Regions from separate parts of the Homo sapiens genome. Here all the other regions are linked to region 1. The links are contacts of gene promoters, found by promoter capture Hi-C in blood cells and fetal thymus (Javierre and others, 2016). All regions are on one chromosome and are shown on one strand. Each heading gives the region's core, a stretch centred on a gene start or on the middle of the fragment in contact. The rest is flanking DNA. Distances are from core to core; before and after follow the strand shown.

Evidence for each region. The method cuts DNA at HindIII sites, captures the fragments that hold promoters and counts their contacts. A CHiCAGO score of 5 or more calls a contact.
Region 2: a contact is called between a fragment that was not itself captured here and the fragment with the promoter of TMEM168 in region 1, in 1 of 17 cell types (fetal thymus). The highest score is 5.8, in fetal thymus.
Region 3: a fragment that was not itself captured here is called in contact with the fragment with the promoter of TMEM168 in region 1 in 3 of 17 cell types (total CD8 T cells, naive CD8 T cells and activated CD4 T cells); the score reaches 9.4 in total CD8 T cells.

Annotation. Positions count from the first base shown.
Region 1 is chr7:112,788,132-112,793,175 of GRCh38, reverse strand. It overlaps TMEM168 (transmembrane protein 168), which reads left to right and starts at 2,783. Exons shown (of 5, transcript NM_022484.6): 1 at 2,783-3,016. RefSeq lists an enhancer at 2,395-2,524. The HindIII fragment of the contact is 5,754 bases long and covers 1,662-5,044 here.
Region 2 is chr7:112,414,220-112,419,263 of GRCh38, reverse strand. LOC105375457 (a long non-coding RNA gene) reads left to right here. Exons shown (of 3, transcript XR_001745325.2): 3 at 1-2,303. Among named protein-coding and RNA genes, the nearest start is that of IFRD1, 34 kb to the left of the region's middle. RefSeq lists enhancers at 3,133-3,632, 3,633-4,134. The HindIII fragment of the contact is 6,333 bases long and covers 1-5,044 here.
Region 3 is chr7:113,103,948-113,108,991 of GRCh38, reverse strand. LOC107986837 reads right to left here. Exons shown (of 4, transcript XM_047421162.1): 2 at 1,193-1,237. Among named protein-coding and RNA genes, the nearest start is that of SMIM30, 12 kb to the left of the region's middle. The HindIII fragment of the contact is 1,672 bases long and covers 1,460-3,131 here.

The DNA of each region.
Region 1 (5,044 bases), core at 1,534-4,033:
AGCATGGTGCTCTGAGAGCATCAGCCAGGGGCCTGTGTAATGGGTTAGACTGAGCTGAGGCTGAAATCAAGATGACCAGCATAGAGGTTACTGAAGTAATACCGTAACAGAGTAGAAGCAATAGAAGTTGATGGGAAATAATAAATGCAAGAGATAGGGTGGATGAAAATGAACAGCACTTGGTCATTCATAAGTGTCAAATTTTTTTTGGTAAATACTGGTATCCTTCAATAACTAAAGATTGACAAGGCTATCTTTCTCCTCCCTCGGTACTAGGTAGTGTCATACAGTTAAAACAAGTCTCAGACTGAATGCTACTACACAAATCTTATCAGCAAGCAGACACAAAAAACAGTACACAAACAGTACTTTGTGGCAAAATATTAAACAGAAGTCTAGACTAAGCCATTCTGAAGGCTGTCGGTCTGCTACACAGCAGATTTCTACGCCACAGTTATGCATAAGTGCTTGTACAGTATTCTAACCAGCCACGTATTTTGAACATCTTGTTTCCACAATGAAGAATTCTTTCTAATCCTTTATGCTAACTAAGGTACATCTAGTGCAGATTTACATGGTGATACTGGAAGCATCTGTGCATTCAACTCTGCAGTGAACATTTTTGATTAGTCTTTCAAATGCTAATTACCCACCCTGGGCTGTGCAGATTAACTTTCAAACATACACACATCTCACTGAAGTATTCTAAAGTATAAGGACAAGATAACAAGCATCAAAAATGGTTTTAAAGTCATAAGGCAGAAGACCATGTTAGAGGAAGATGATGAAAAACCACTGATTTAGTGAGCTGGTCTTAGTGCTAAGCAACTGAATGCAGCTGTAGCTAATTTAAGCAGAAAGTAAGTTTACTAGAGGACGCTAAGTAGTTCAAAGGATAGCTGGAGATTGAGGCTTGCACCTACATGGCCAGAATCTACCTTGGCTGTTACCGGTGGAAGGTGTCCAGGTTCTTGGCATCTTGAACAAGGAATTAGACAAAACGCACAAACAAAGCAAGGAAGGAATGAAGCAACAAAAGCAGAGATTTATTGAAAATGAAAGTACACTCCACAGGGTGTGAAGAGCCGGAACATGGGGCTCAAGAGCGGGGCGGCCGGGTTATAGAATTTTCTGGGGTATAAACACCCTCTAGAGGTTTCCCATTGGCCACTTGGTGTACACCCCACGCAAATATAGTGGCCCACAATCAGTCTGATAGCGGAAAGCAACCAATCAGAGCCTGAAGCGAAGTTACAAAGGTTACACCCTATGCAAACATTTAATTAGTTATGGAAAGCAACCAATCCGAGGTACTTTCAATTTTCCGTCTGCCACGCAGAAAAGGGCGGTGGTGGGGGAGGGGGCCGGGTCCCTTTGTTACTTAGCTGTGGAAAGTTGGGGCTTTCCTTTTGATTTAGTTCTAGAAAGTCAGCATGAATCAGCCGTAAGTTCCTTGCCTCCAGACCCTATTGTCCTGCCTCACAGCTATGTAGTACAGAGTCTGTCACAGGCTACCCAGAAATGTACACAGAGACTGTTAACAGGCTACAGAACAGATTGGGAAAGGGCTCTGGGGTTGTGACCCTCACCAAGCACAGGCATCTTGCATCTCTGACATGTTAATGGTGGATGCCAGCACTCTCACTACTGCCTCGGAAGCTTACCTTGCTGTTAGGGATGGGTTCTCGATCTCTACACTTGCTATACTCCTACAGGTGACCTGGGAGTGTAGCTTTCTGTGCCTTTTTTGACTCATGGCTTCCAGCGGGTACACATGATTAGTTAAACAAGTGTTCAGCATTTCAGCGGCAGCCATTAGACTCTTAACTCAGGTGGGGAATTCTCCAAATACGGAAGGGGATTCAAATGGGGGGCATAATAAATGTATATAAATGTCCATTAAAGGCAAGTTGAGTTGGAAGTGATGACAATATATTTGAGTAGAAACATCTAGCAGGTAGTTGGAAATGTGGCACTCGTGTTCCCCAGAGAGCTAGTTACAGATTTGGGAAGTTGAGTTGTGATTGCTTTTAAAATCAGGAGTCTAGAGAGAATCTAACTCAAAATTTTCATCCACATATGCAGAATCTCAATCTGAGAGTTGTTCATTCCTATAGATGTGCTGGCCACACCAACCCCCAACATCTATTATGAAAATTAGGAAATTCACACTCTATTATGGAAAATAGGAAAAATATATAGATAATACATGCAAAACAAGTGGGAGGAGAGAACTACGGATCGTGGAGAGCCTATTGCATATTATTATTTTACAAATATTTAAGTGCCAACTATGTGTCAGGCACTATGCTAAGGTGATTTAATGTTGAGCAAAACCCGACATGTCCCTGCATTTGAGGAACTGAAAGGTCTGAGGGAGGGCCTAAGGAGCTTGGGCCTTAGCTGGTTACAAAGCCATATATTATGCCATATATATTAATGAGCAGCAACGCCTCCCGCAGTATTTACAGCCCACGCGTGGCAGTCCTGTCCACCCTGTCCCCGTTCGGTCCAGCCCGAGGCGGTGGCCTAGATGCTTGATGGGCACTGTCAGCCTGATCTTTGGTGGTCTTCCCGCTGTCTGTTCTCAGCTGCTGATTCCAGGTCCCAGGAGTCGACTTTGGCTTGAGGAAGGCAGGCGCCTTAGGTGGGGCAGTTGACACTCGCGCAGCGCCTTGCTCACCTGAGTGTGTGGCGGCGCGCGGGTTTGGGCGGGGAGGGGGCCGGGCCTCGGGAAGGAGGCGCGCCGCGCAGTTTGACCCCGGCGGCGTTCCGTACCGTCGCGGATTTCGGCGGCGGAAACATGGCGGTCGCGGCCGGGCCGGTAACGGAGAAAGTTTACGCCGACACTGGCCTGTATTAGCGCGTATGGCCTCGGGCCCTCGTTCCCCAAGGCGTGCCGCCTCCCTGTTCTCAGTCGCAGGCTGAAGCCTTGTCTGCTCTCCTCCTTTTTGGTTTGGTTTTGGAACTGACTCCGAGGGTTGGGAGAGCGCGTTGGTGGCGACGGCCGAGTCAGGTAGGGAGAAATGGGTGGACGGCAGGGCGGCGAGATCTAGGCATAGACACTGCCAGGGCTCCGCGTGGTCCGGACCCCAAGCTCCGCCCAGTCGGCCTCCCAGGGCCGGGGTAGGATACCTGCCTCTGGAGGAGTTGACAGTGGTGGTTGGAGATTGGAGGGTGTGGGAGCGCCTCTCCGTATTTCGCAAGGGTTCCCCCTCAACTGGGCGCCACGTTGTGGTCGCGTTCTCCGAGGCAGAGGATGGTGGAGAACAGCCAAGCTCCTTGTCGGACCTCCCACATCTCGCTAGAAGGAGGCCGAAAGGGAGAGAAATTGCTGTTGCTGCTCTAGTGCTGAGGAGTTTGATATTCTAGATGACATTTTCCTCGTATGAGATGGCTCAAAGAGTTATCAGTAATTCAGAACTGAAGCACTGAAATTCCCTGTTTTTTCAGTGTAGTTCTTTCAGCCTTGACACTTCTAGATGGGACAGAGTTTCTGAGTGAAAGATAATGCAAGTGATACGGTATGCCTCAAGCCATTCCCTAGAGGTAGGACATGGAGAGAGAATTGGTTTGGAAGAATTTGGGTGAATTAAGTAAAGACTGGTGGAAAGCTGAAATAGAAACCAAACATTCATGGACTCTCCCTTAGTTCTACTAGTTATTAGTTGTGGGATATAGCTAAGTTCTGTATTCTCTTTAGGCATTAGTAAGTGTCCAATGGTGACTATTGTTGTTAAATGTAGTTATTTCTTTATTAGTCTTTATTTTTCAACAAGTATTTATTGAATACCTTCTTGATGCCGGATTTTTGCTAGTCACTGGGTGTACAGTATTGAAGACAAACCCTCAGAGACCTTTTGATCTAGTGGGAAATGCAGACATGAAATAAGTGATGGTATGTAACAGAGAAAGTATGGGGGTCATGTAATGGGGAGGGGGCAGGGATAATCTCTTAAGAAAATGATTTATCTGAGACCTGAAGAGTTGGAATAAGCCAGGTGTGAGCACTGGGGTGGGGCCAGGAGGAGGAAAAGGAGTGTACCTGGCAAGGGAATAGCATTTGTGCAGTTTGTAATTGAAAGGTCAGTAAGGTTGGAAAATAAAGTGTGAGAGGAAAACTGGTAACAGATAAGGCAGGAGAGTTATTCAGGCCCAACACGGAGTGCCTTATAAGGCACTGTAAGGAGTTTTGACTTTATTGCTAAGGGTGATGGGACGCCATTGGAGCATTTTACATAGTGGAGTGCTAAATTTTGGTTTTAAAAAGTACACTTCTTAGAGAGGGCAAGAGTGGATACAGGGAAATGTTCAACATGATGGTGGCCAAAATTGGGATGGTGACCCTGGGGACGAGAAGTAGAAACATTTAAAAAATGTTTAGGAAGAATAGTAGACAGGACTTGGTGAGGATTAAATGTAGATGATGGTGGAGAGGAGGGTTAGAATAGTATGTAAGGTTTTATGAAATAATCAGACTCTGGCAGTGATTGGTTAGCTTTTCCCATATGCATATTGACTCCTCTATGGTCCATTTTCATCTACCTCTGGAATAATTGTCCATTGAATCATTAGTGACGGCAAACCGATTGAAAAGGAATGTAATGTTTTTCTGTTATTCTCTAACTCAGGCTGTCTTTTGAAGAAGATCAGAATGGGGAAGAGTTTTGTAAATTAGCCATTTAAAAACAATCTGCCATGTTGATTTTGGTCCATAGGAAGGTAACTGCATATATTGCATTATATGGATGCACTGTACTTCACTAATTTTTTTTTTACATGTTTACATTTACTTTGTTTCCAGGTATTTACCTCTGTTAACAGTGCAGAACAGAGCTGGTGCTTCATTTTCTATAGGTAGATTAATATATGTGTGCACTTAAGTAGAGAGATAATAATCAAAGACATAGAAATAAATGACATTGCTTAGAGAAAGTATATAGTGAGAGAAAAGCCTAGGTTTGGGGTTGAACATCCAAAGGATGGGTTGAGAATGAAGAACCTTCAAGGAGACCGAGGAGGGGAAACCAATAAATTAAGAAAA
Region 2 (5,044 bases), core at 862-3,361, 370 kb after region 1:
GCCTGGCTTATTCCATTTAACATAATATCCTCCAGTTCCATCCATGTTGTTGCAAATGATAAGATCTCATTTTTTATGGCTGAATAGTACTTCATTGTGTGTGCACCACATTTTTTTTTAATTTTACTTTAAGTTTCAGAATACATGTGCAGAACATGCAGGTTTGTTACATAGGTATACATGTGCCATGGTGGTTTGCTGTACCTATCAACCCGTCATCTAGGTTTTAAGCCCCACATGCAATAGGTATTTGTCCTAATACTCTCCTTCCCCTTGCCCTCCACCCCGCAACAGGCCCTGGTATGTGTTGTTTCCCTCTCTGTGTCCATGTGTTCTCATTGTTCAATTTCCACTTATAAGTGAGAACATGCGGTGTTTGGTTTTCTGTTCCTGTGTTAGTTTGCTGAGGATAATGGCTTCCAACTTCATCCATGTCCCTGCAAAGGACATGATCTCATTGTTTTTTATGGCTGCATAGTATTCTATGGTATGTACGTACCACATTTTCTTTACCCAGTATATCATTGATGGACATTTGGGTTGGTTCCATGTCTTTGCTATTGTAAATAGTGTTGCAATAAACATACATGAGCATGTGTCTTTATAGTAGAATGATTTATATTCTTTTGGGTATATACCCCAGTAATGGGATTGCTGGGTCAAATGGTATTTCTGGTTCTAGATCCCTGAGGAATCGCCACACTGTCTTCCACAGTGGTTATACCAATCTACATTAACACCAATAGCATAAAAGCATTCCTATTTCTCCACAGCATCACCAGCATCTATTGTTTCTTGACTTTTTAATAATTGCCATTCTGACTAGCGTGAGATGGTATCTCATTGTGGTTTTGATTTGTATTTCTCTAATGATCAGTGATGATGAGCTTTTTTCCATATGTTTGTTGGCTGCATAAATGTCTTTTGAGAAGTGTCTATTCATACCCTTTCCCCACTTTTTGATGTGGTTGTTTTTTTCTTGTAAATTTCTTTAAGTTTCTTGTAGATTCTGGATGTTAGACCTTTGTCAAGTGGGTAGATTGCAAAAATTTTCTCCCATTCTATAGGTTATCTGTTCACTCTGATGATAGTTTTTTTTTGCTTGCAGAAGCTCTTTAGTTTAATTAGATCCCATTTGTCAATTTTGGCTTTTGTTGCAATTGCTTTTGGTATTTTCATCATGAAGTCTTTGCCCATGCGTATGTCCTGAATGGTATTGTCTAGGTTTTCTTCTAGAGTTTTTATGGTTTTGGGTTTTACATTTAAGTCCTTAATCCATCTTGAGTTAATTTTTGTATAAGGTGTAAGGAAGGGGTCCAGTTTCAGTTTTCTGCATATGGCTAGCCAGTTTTCCCAGCACCATTTATTAAATAGGGAATCCTTTCCCCATTCTTGTTTTTGGCAGGTTTGTCGCAGATCTGATGGTTGTAGATCTGTGGTGTTATTTCTGAGGCCTCTGTTCTGTTCCATTGGTCTATATGTCTCTTTTGGTACCAGTACCATGCTGTTTTGCTTACTGTAGCCTTGTAGTATAGTTTGAAGTCAGGTAGCATGATGTCTCCACCTTTGTTCTTTTTGCTTAGGATTGTCTTGGCTATACAGGCTCTTTTTTGGTTCCATATGAAATTTAAAGTAGTTTTTTCTAGTTCTGTGAAGAAAGTCAAGGGTAGCTTGATGGGAATAGTATTGAATCCCAGTGTTTTCTTTAGTAGTTTCATAGTTTGAGGTCTTAGATTTAAGCCTTTAATCCATTTTTATTTTATTTTTATATATACCCAGAGATAGGGGTCCAGTTTCATCCTTTTGCATATGGACATCCAGTTTTCCCAGCACCATTTATTAAAGAGACTGTCCTTTCCCCAGTGTATATTCTTGGCACCTTTGTCGAAAATGAGTTCACTGTTGAGTATGTATTTATTTCTTGGTTCTGTATTCCGCTCCATTGGTCTATGTGTCTGTTTTTATGCCGGTACCATGCTGTTTTTGTTACTATAGTTCTGCAGTGTAATTTCAAGTCATGTAATGTGATGCCTCCAGTTTTGTTCTTATTGTTCAGGGTAGCTTGGGCTATTCTGTGTCTTTTGTGGTTCTGTATACATTTTAGTTTTTTAATTTTGATTTCTGTGAATAATGTCAGTGTTATTTTGATAGGGATTACATTGAATCTGTAGATCGCTTTGGGTAGTATGGACATTTTAATAATATTGATTCTTCCAATCTATTAACATGGAGATGGATATTTGGATTGTTTATAATCACATGCTACTATACATAATGTCTCTCAATAAATAACTTTCTTCACATATTCTGAATTTGTAGAGATTCTTAAAAGTAGAATTGCTCAATCAACAGGTAAATGCAAATGTAGTTTTATTAGTTAATTCCAAATTATTCCCCATAGGGCCTAAACCATAATGATGACAGTACCTACTTTTCCACAGCCCCACCAACAAAGTATATTAGCAACCTTTTTGAACTTGCCAATCAAATAGATGAGCAGTAAGATTTTTAAATGCTTTTCATTCACTTTTTTCTTAATATAAGCTAGATTGAGTAGCTTTTCACATATTTTAGGGTCATTTTCGTGTTTAAAATTTCTTTCTGATTTAAATACCCAGTTCATTCCTTTTGTTTATAGTGCCTCTTTTTAGGAGTTTTCCTGAATATTCAGCTTGTTAATTTATCTTATGTAGTTTAGAATCAACTTCTCTGACTCCAGAAAAAAAAATGGTTACTTTTAATGTAATGACAATAAGTGTATATATTAACCTGGGAGAACTGGCATCCTCATGATGCTTCATTGTCTAATCCAAGAATACGACACATCTTTCTACTTTTGTGTTTCACAGGAGTGCTTTAAGGTTTTTATCATATCTGCTTAGCACATTTCTTTGTACTCATTTGGCAAAACCACAACAGGATGCAGCTGAACGTTGCTGGAGAAAATTCCACGATCATGCTGACTGGTCTTACTTTAAATTTACTACTGCTAACTGCAAGCGGTGCCTTCATGCTGCTAGGGTGTCACACTACCTTGTCCTTCCATCTCCAGCTCCTTCACATAATCATTCACATCTTCTCCCCTCACCCTTCTCCCATCCTCATTCAGCTGGTTGTCTTGTTTTCTACCTCACTGACAAAACAAAACAATGCAAAACATCAGAAGAGAACTTCTGCCATTTCCCATATGATAATAACGCCAGCCACCCAAATTCAAATCTCTCCATACACCTTCTCTCTGCACAAAAAAAGTACAGTTCAACAAAGAGAGCCAATAAATAAATAAATAAATAAATAAATAACATGTATCTTCAGAATAACTGGGAGACAAAGTAATTGAAAAAGATTTCAATTTAGATGTAAATGGAGGAGGAGGCATTCAAGAGCAGGAGTTGCTCCACAGCCTACCCCAGAACAACACCAGTCTTGTGAGTATTACATGAGGGAGAGGAGAGAGCAGTGGGAGAACCTCAAGAATGTCAGCTGGGGTTCACCCCCCGCAGGAGAGGGGAGAACACAGGTCTCAGATCGTGTGTTGCTTCACCCTTTTCTGCATGGCCCACTGGGGAAGGGCTGAACTTCCCCAAGCATGTGTGCTCTACTTTGCCCCATGTCCCTCTACTGCAGAGGGACTAGGGGATGCCTGTGAATGCCACGGTTACAGCAGGCACCAGGGGCCCTTCAGCAGCCCATGAAGGTCTGGGAGAGGTGTAGGGGCCTAGTTTCCATGGCCGAGGGCTCTTTGGGATCCAGTTGATGGGGTTGAATGAAAGCCTAGAGAGATGACAGTCACACTGGGGAAACAAGACAAACAACAAGCAACTAATAAGCAAGACAGATTGTTACATCTTATGTTTACTCACTGGCATGATAATTTACTTAATTATGTAGCAGAGACAATTCAGGAATGCTATAAGATATAATAAGTTGCTAATCATAGGATGCAAGGGGTAAATACAAAAGATGCTTGAGAACAGACAGATGTTATAAACTAGAGTCACCAGGTCATGGATATCTTGATGAGAAGCAGGGGATCTAAAGCTAGATTTTTATCTCTGGCATAAAAGTTGTTGAGGAGGCATTTGCCAAATGGACCCAAAAACGAGCAGGATGGAGGATGTATATCTGTGACCCACGGGGTGTGTCTGATTGGCATGTTCTAAGAAAGATCTCAATTTAGCCAGCAGAGGGCAAGAGAACACAGAAACCATTCCAAGATTTATGACCTGAAGATTGTTTGGAATAGAAGGATTGTGTAGGTGTCTAAGCAAAAACAAATCACAAAAACAGTTACGAATCTGGCTCTTTTGAAACAATATATTTTAAAACTACATATCTAAAGAAGAGATTGACTACTGTTGGCACTGCAATAAATTCATGCCTTTTTATAAAAAGTCAGAATTTATTTAAACAGTGCATGCCTTTATAGATCCATAAGTGCTTGACAAAATATGGGAACCTCTTTGGAATATTTAACCTAGTATTTTAAGAAACATTTTTATTTGAAGATCCCAGATAAACTGAAACATTTATAAACACACATAGCAGTGATTTATTTTCTAAACCTCAGAAATAGGCTTTTTAAAAGAATGAGAGTCTATCATAAAGGTAGCATGTTATGACATTTGTTAAATAGATGAATTATTCAAAACAAACATATATGTAGTCTATCAAGTAAGAAAGAGTGAAAGAAGCACCTGCCCTTTCCCATAGATATAGGGCAAATGCAGGGTTAGACGTCAGCAAAACCCAGAGGCCAGTGGCCATGTGTCTGCTCCCTCCGATGTCCATCAGCTCCTCCTTTTATGCCGTGCCCCACACCCCCACCTCCATTGCTAAAAGCATGCCAACTATTCAAATAAACTTTCAAGCCCACAGACTCCAGACCCAGGTAGAGAAATGGCAGCAGGCTTCCATCGGGCATTCTAAATGTGCTGTTCACACACTTAATCTGGGTTGACAACAAGATTAAAAAAATCCCCTGGACTGGAAGCCTGGAAACCTGGATTATGGACATTATCCAGTAAACTATTGAAACTTTCTG
Region 3 (5,044 bases), core at 1,046-3,545, 320 kb before region 1:
TTTCAATAAATATTTGTGCATTAAATTTAGTTCCTAAAACATCCTGAAGAACAGATTAATAGAGTAGCATTGAATAAACAAGTCTATATGCTGACAGAGGTATAATATTAAAGCAATATTATTGCTTTTTAATAACACCGCAGGTTTGGAGCTTCCGTTTTACATACAGTGTTACCTCTGCCTTTCTGAAAGCTGTTGGCAACTCAGATTTACTCTAAGTGTTATCCATTGGAAAATATCCATTATGAAGTAATCACAAGACAGTTTTCAACATATTGCAGTCTTAGAGAATGCTATCACAGGTGATCTCAAAGCCCACATTTCATTCAGCTGAAGGCTGTATCAGAAAAAAAGGGGAAAAAAAGGAAAGAAAAGATACCCAGAGCCCAAACTACTTCTTCATTTTCAAAGATGGCTCTCAAATATAGCCTCAAATAGAATTCCACTTCTCACCCTCAGTCACGGCGAATGGATTATAGAATAGCCAATCCATGATTCCACTCTGCTGTTGTGTTGGGGCTTCCACCCAGGCCCTATGACTTTCTGAAATCCATTCAGTGTCTAGGTATGATTGAAGGTACAAGAAACATTAAAAGTCACTTTTTAGAAATCAACTGCTTCATTCAAATGTTTTGGCCTCTTAAAAAATAGTCTTAGAGAAAAGTGGACTTTATTGATGCTGCCATTATTTAAAGCATATTTGGAATTCATATTTGGAATATGGCATGCCCTTTCAAATACTTCCAATAAAAAGAAGTCTTCATGTTTGAGCACTTGGCTTTTGGAATGAGCCAGAAGCAATTCAGAGCTGAGCCCTGTATGTGAATGAGGTGAGTGAGAAATAGAGCAACCACTCGTGAGCTAATTATCCAATTGAAAGAGAGCTCTGAGCTTCATTTATACCTAGATTCTAAGGACTGGGGAGTTTAAATTACTTGGAGAGGTAAAATTACATCATTTGATAAAATAAATGGTGACTTCAAAGTAACAAAAAATTTTTTTCTGTAACTTATAAACCAAATTAAATGGTTATTACACTATCTAATGTATTGCTTTTTAACTAAAAAAATCATAACATTAGATAATTAGTATATATGGTAATGATATATAGATGACATTAGATAATGATATGGTATATATGGTAATGATATATAGATAACATTAGATAATATCAGAATGACCCATACCTTACCTGTCCTCAGCAAAACTGTTTTCACTCTTCCAAGCCATCTTCCACCTGCATAAATTTAATGAAACTGGATTGGAACATGCATACCATTTTGTCTTCTAGTTTTGTTTGTCTGTTTAACATGTAAGTGTTTCACGGATATTTTAACAATCAAGTAATATTCTACCCCTTATATTTACCATTACTTATTCCAAAACAATACCTTTAATAATGCTGGACATGCCAATGGTATTTAACATCTTGTCATTATTGATAACACTATAATAAGCTTATTATAATACTATAATAAGCAAAATAGATAATTTCTACCAAGTACCAAAAATATATTCATATCCTTTGAACCTGTGGTTTCAGCCTAGAAATTGACTTCTGTATATTAATTCTTACATTATAATTCATCCGTTGCAAATATATACATAAAAATATATCTAATGTGTCTATTGTCCTGATCTTCTAAAGAAGCAAGTTTTCCAACATGGAGGATAACTGAGGTGACTATATACTACTGTACCAGAAATGCTAGAGGTCTGGGTTTATAAAAGACACTCTGAATTCTAGGTGTGGAAAGAAAAGTTTCTAACCCAGGAGAGAAAGTAACAAATCTCCTGTTAGAGAAAAAGTTCAGAGTCACTGTGCACTTTTATAATAAGCAGTTCATAAGAGGGATCAAAAAAAGACTCAGCATATTAAGTGAAAGAAGTATTATATGGTCTTCAATATTCATTTTCAAGATTATTCTTATTGTTTTCATAATTAAAATTAAAACATTATTTGTCCAGTGATCTCTACATTTTTTATTAGTGGTCCATACTAATGATAGCTATCAAGAAATATTATTAATTAAACATTATTACAATAATAAGTACCAAACCACACAAAGAAGTGTTTCTTTCCTCGGTGGTGTTGCAAAGTGACAGAAGTTTATGGCTATGAAAGTCTGTGACATAATTAAAAGAGCACTAAACAAGGAGTCAAAACCATATGAATCCTAGTTCTGGCTATGCTGCAAACAGGCTGTAGGGCACCAGCAGAATCACTCGCAAGTTATTTGGGGACTCATTTTCTTAAAGAAAAATATAAATAAGTAGAAATTGTGTACCCCAAACACATTCACTGCTGAGCACTTAAAACTAGAATTCCCCTTTGAAGGAAGATGAGCAAGGTGAAGGAAGGCTTAGGCAAACAGAATACCCAGAAGTGGGGCCAGCCTTGAAAAGCTACAGAAACAGTTTCCTGATAGATGACATGACTTAAGGAAAGCCATCAGGAAACATCCTAAACACAAATGCCTAAGTTCTATACACTCTCCAGTACTTTTGTGATACCTGATTAATGGTGCCTCTTCTGGGTCTTGCAGGCCTAGAGGTCTTCTGGCTCTTGATACTGAATGCTAATATGACTTTGGGGTCTACACATTAAACTAAAAATAAAAACCTCCAAATGGAACTCCAAAGTGGGATTAAACACCTGATATTGGGTTTAGAGAGAAGAATGAAGGATAAAATTACCAGAAGTGGGGAGAAGGGATGTGGATGGACAATGCACCAAAAATACATAGAAAATTATACCATGTGAGCAAAAGTTGGTCCTACCTAAAAGAAGTTTAAAGTTTTGCTTTATAGTTCATTAAATTAAACATGCCAGCCTAATAGCAATATTCTTAAAAATAGAAAACTTGTCCTTCCTGCTTTGCATTATTCTTGAACACCCAAGATAAAGCATTTAATACAATACACATTCAATAAACATTTGTAGTCTGACTTAAGAACTCTGTCCACAGAAAAAGCCCAAATGGTTTAGATGACAAAACAAAAGATATCATAGGAAAAAATATAATCTATTTCGGCAGCCTGACAAAAATTAAGTAGAATTAAAATAAAATTCAGATTAGAAGCATTACCATAAAAATATAAAATGAAAGCAAGGAAAGAGCACTCAAGCTTTTGTACAAAGATGGACATCTCCAGTTTGTTTATATTTTTGTTTTTTCCAGATAATGCTGGCATAAAGTGGTTGCTATAGCAGTTGTTTTATTTGTATAAATTTAAGGCGCACAAGTGCAGTTTTGTTAAATTGATACTTTGTATGGTGGTGAACCCCAGGCTTTTAGTGTTACCAATACCTGAATGATGTAAATTGTACCCAACAGATAATTTCTCATCCCTCAACTCCCTCTCATCCTCCCAACTTCTGGAGTCTCCAGTGGCTTTGATTCCGCTCTGTATGTTCATGTGTAGCTCCCACTTATAAGTGAGAACATGAGGTATTTGGCTTTCTGTTTCTGAGTCATTTCACTTAAGATAATGGCCTCCAGTTCCACCCATGCTGTTACAAAAGACATTTCTTTCTTTCCTATGGCTGAGTAGAATTCCATTATACACACACACACACACACACACACACACACACACCTTATTCCAACATGGAGGATATCTTGTATTTATATATATATATATAAATATATATAAATATATATAACTATATATAAATATATAGTTATAAATATATATAAATATATTTAAATATATAAAAATATATATTATATATATTTACATATATAAATATATTTAAATATATAAAAATATATATTATATATATTTATATATATAAATACAAGATATCCTCCATGTTGGAATAAGGTGTGTGTGTGTATATATGTGTGTGTGTATATGTGTATATATATATTTATATATATATTATATATTTTATATTTATATATTTTATATATATTTATATATATTTTATATATATATTTATATATACACACACATATTACATGCACGCACACACAACACATTTTCTTTATCCAATCATATTTTAATGGACACTTAGGTTGATTCCATGACTTGCTATTGTGGATAGTGCTGCCATCGATATATGAGTGCAGATGTCTTTTTTATATAATTTATTTTCCTTTGGGTAGATACCCCGTAGTGGGATTGCTGGATTGAATGGTAGTTCTGTTTTTAGTTATTTGAGAAATCTCCATACTGTTTTCCCTGGAGACTGTACAAGGAACTCAACTCAATAGCAACAACAACAACAAAAAACAACCTCATTAAAAAGTGGGCAAAGGACACGAGTAGACATTTTCCAAAAGAACATACAAATGGCCATCAAGGGTATGAAAAAATTCCCAGCATCACTAATCACCAAAGAAATGCAAATTAAAACCACAATGAGATATACAATGAGATACCATCATACACCAGTCAGGATGGCCATTATTAAAAAGTCAAAAAATAACAAATGTTGGTGATGATGAGGAGAAAAAGAAATGATTTTTTTTTTTTTTTTGAGACAGAGTCTCGCCCTGTCACCCAGGTTGGAGTGCAATGGCATGATCTCGGCTCACTGCAACCTCTGCCTCCCAGGTTCAAGCAATTCTCCTGCTTCAGCCTCCTGAGTAGCTGGGATTATAGGCATGCACCACCACGCCTGTCTGATTTGTGTGTGTGTGTGTGTGTGTGTGTCTTTAGTAGAGACAGGGTTTCACTATTTTGGCCAGGCTGGTCTTGAACTCCTGACCTCGTGATCTGCCCACCTCAGCCTCCTAAAGTGCTGGGATTACAGGCATGAGCCACTGCTTTTTACACTGTTGGTGGTAATGTAAATTAATACAATCTTTATAGTTTTTTTTTTGTTTTTTTTTTTTTTTGTAAATGACAGAACTCCCACTACAAAGAAAAGATCCCCCTCCCTCTTTGGGCTTCAGTATACTTGCATGACATGACTCAAAAATTAAAGGAAGGAAGGGGAGACGGAGGAAGAGAGGAAATTATTCTATTGAAGGAATCTGGTCATTTTAAAGATCTCTTACTACAATAAAAAATTTTATAGATAAAATGAATTTTT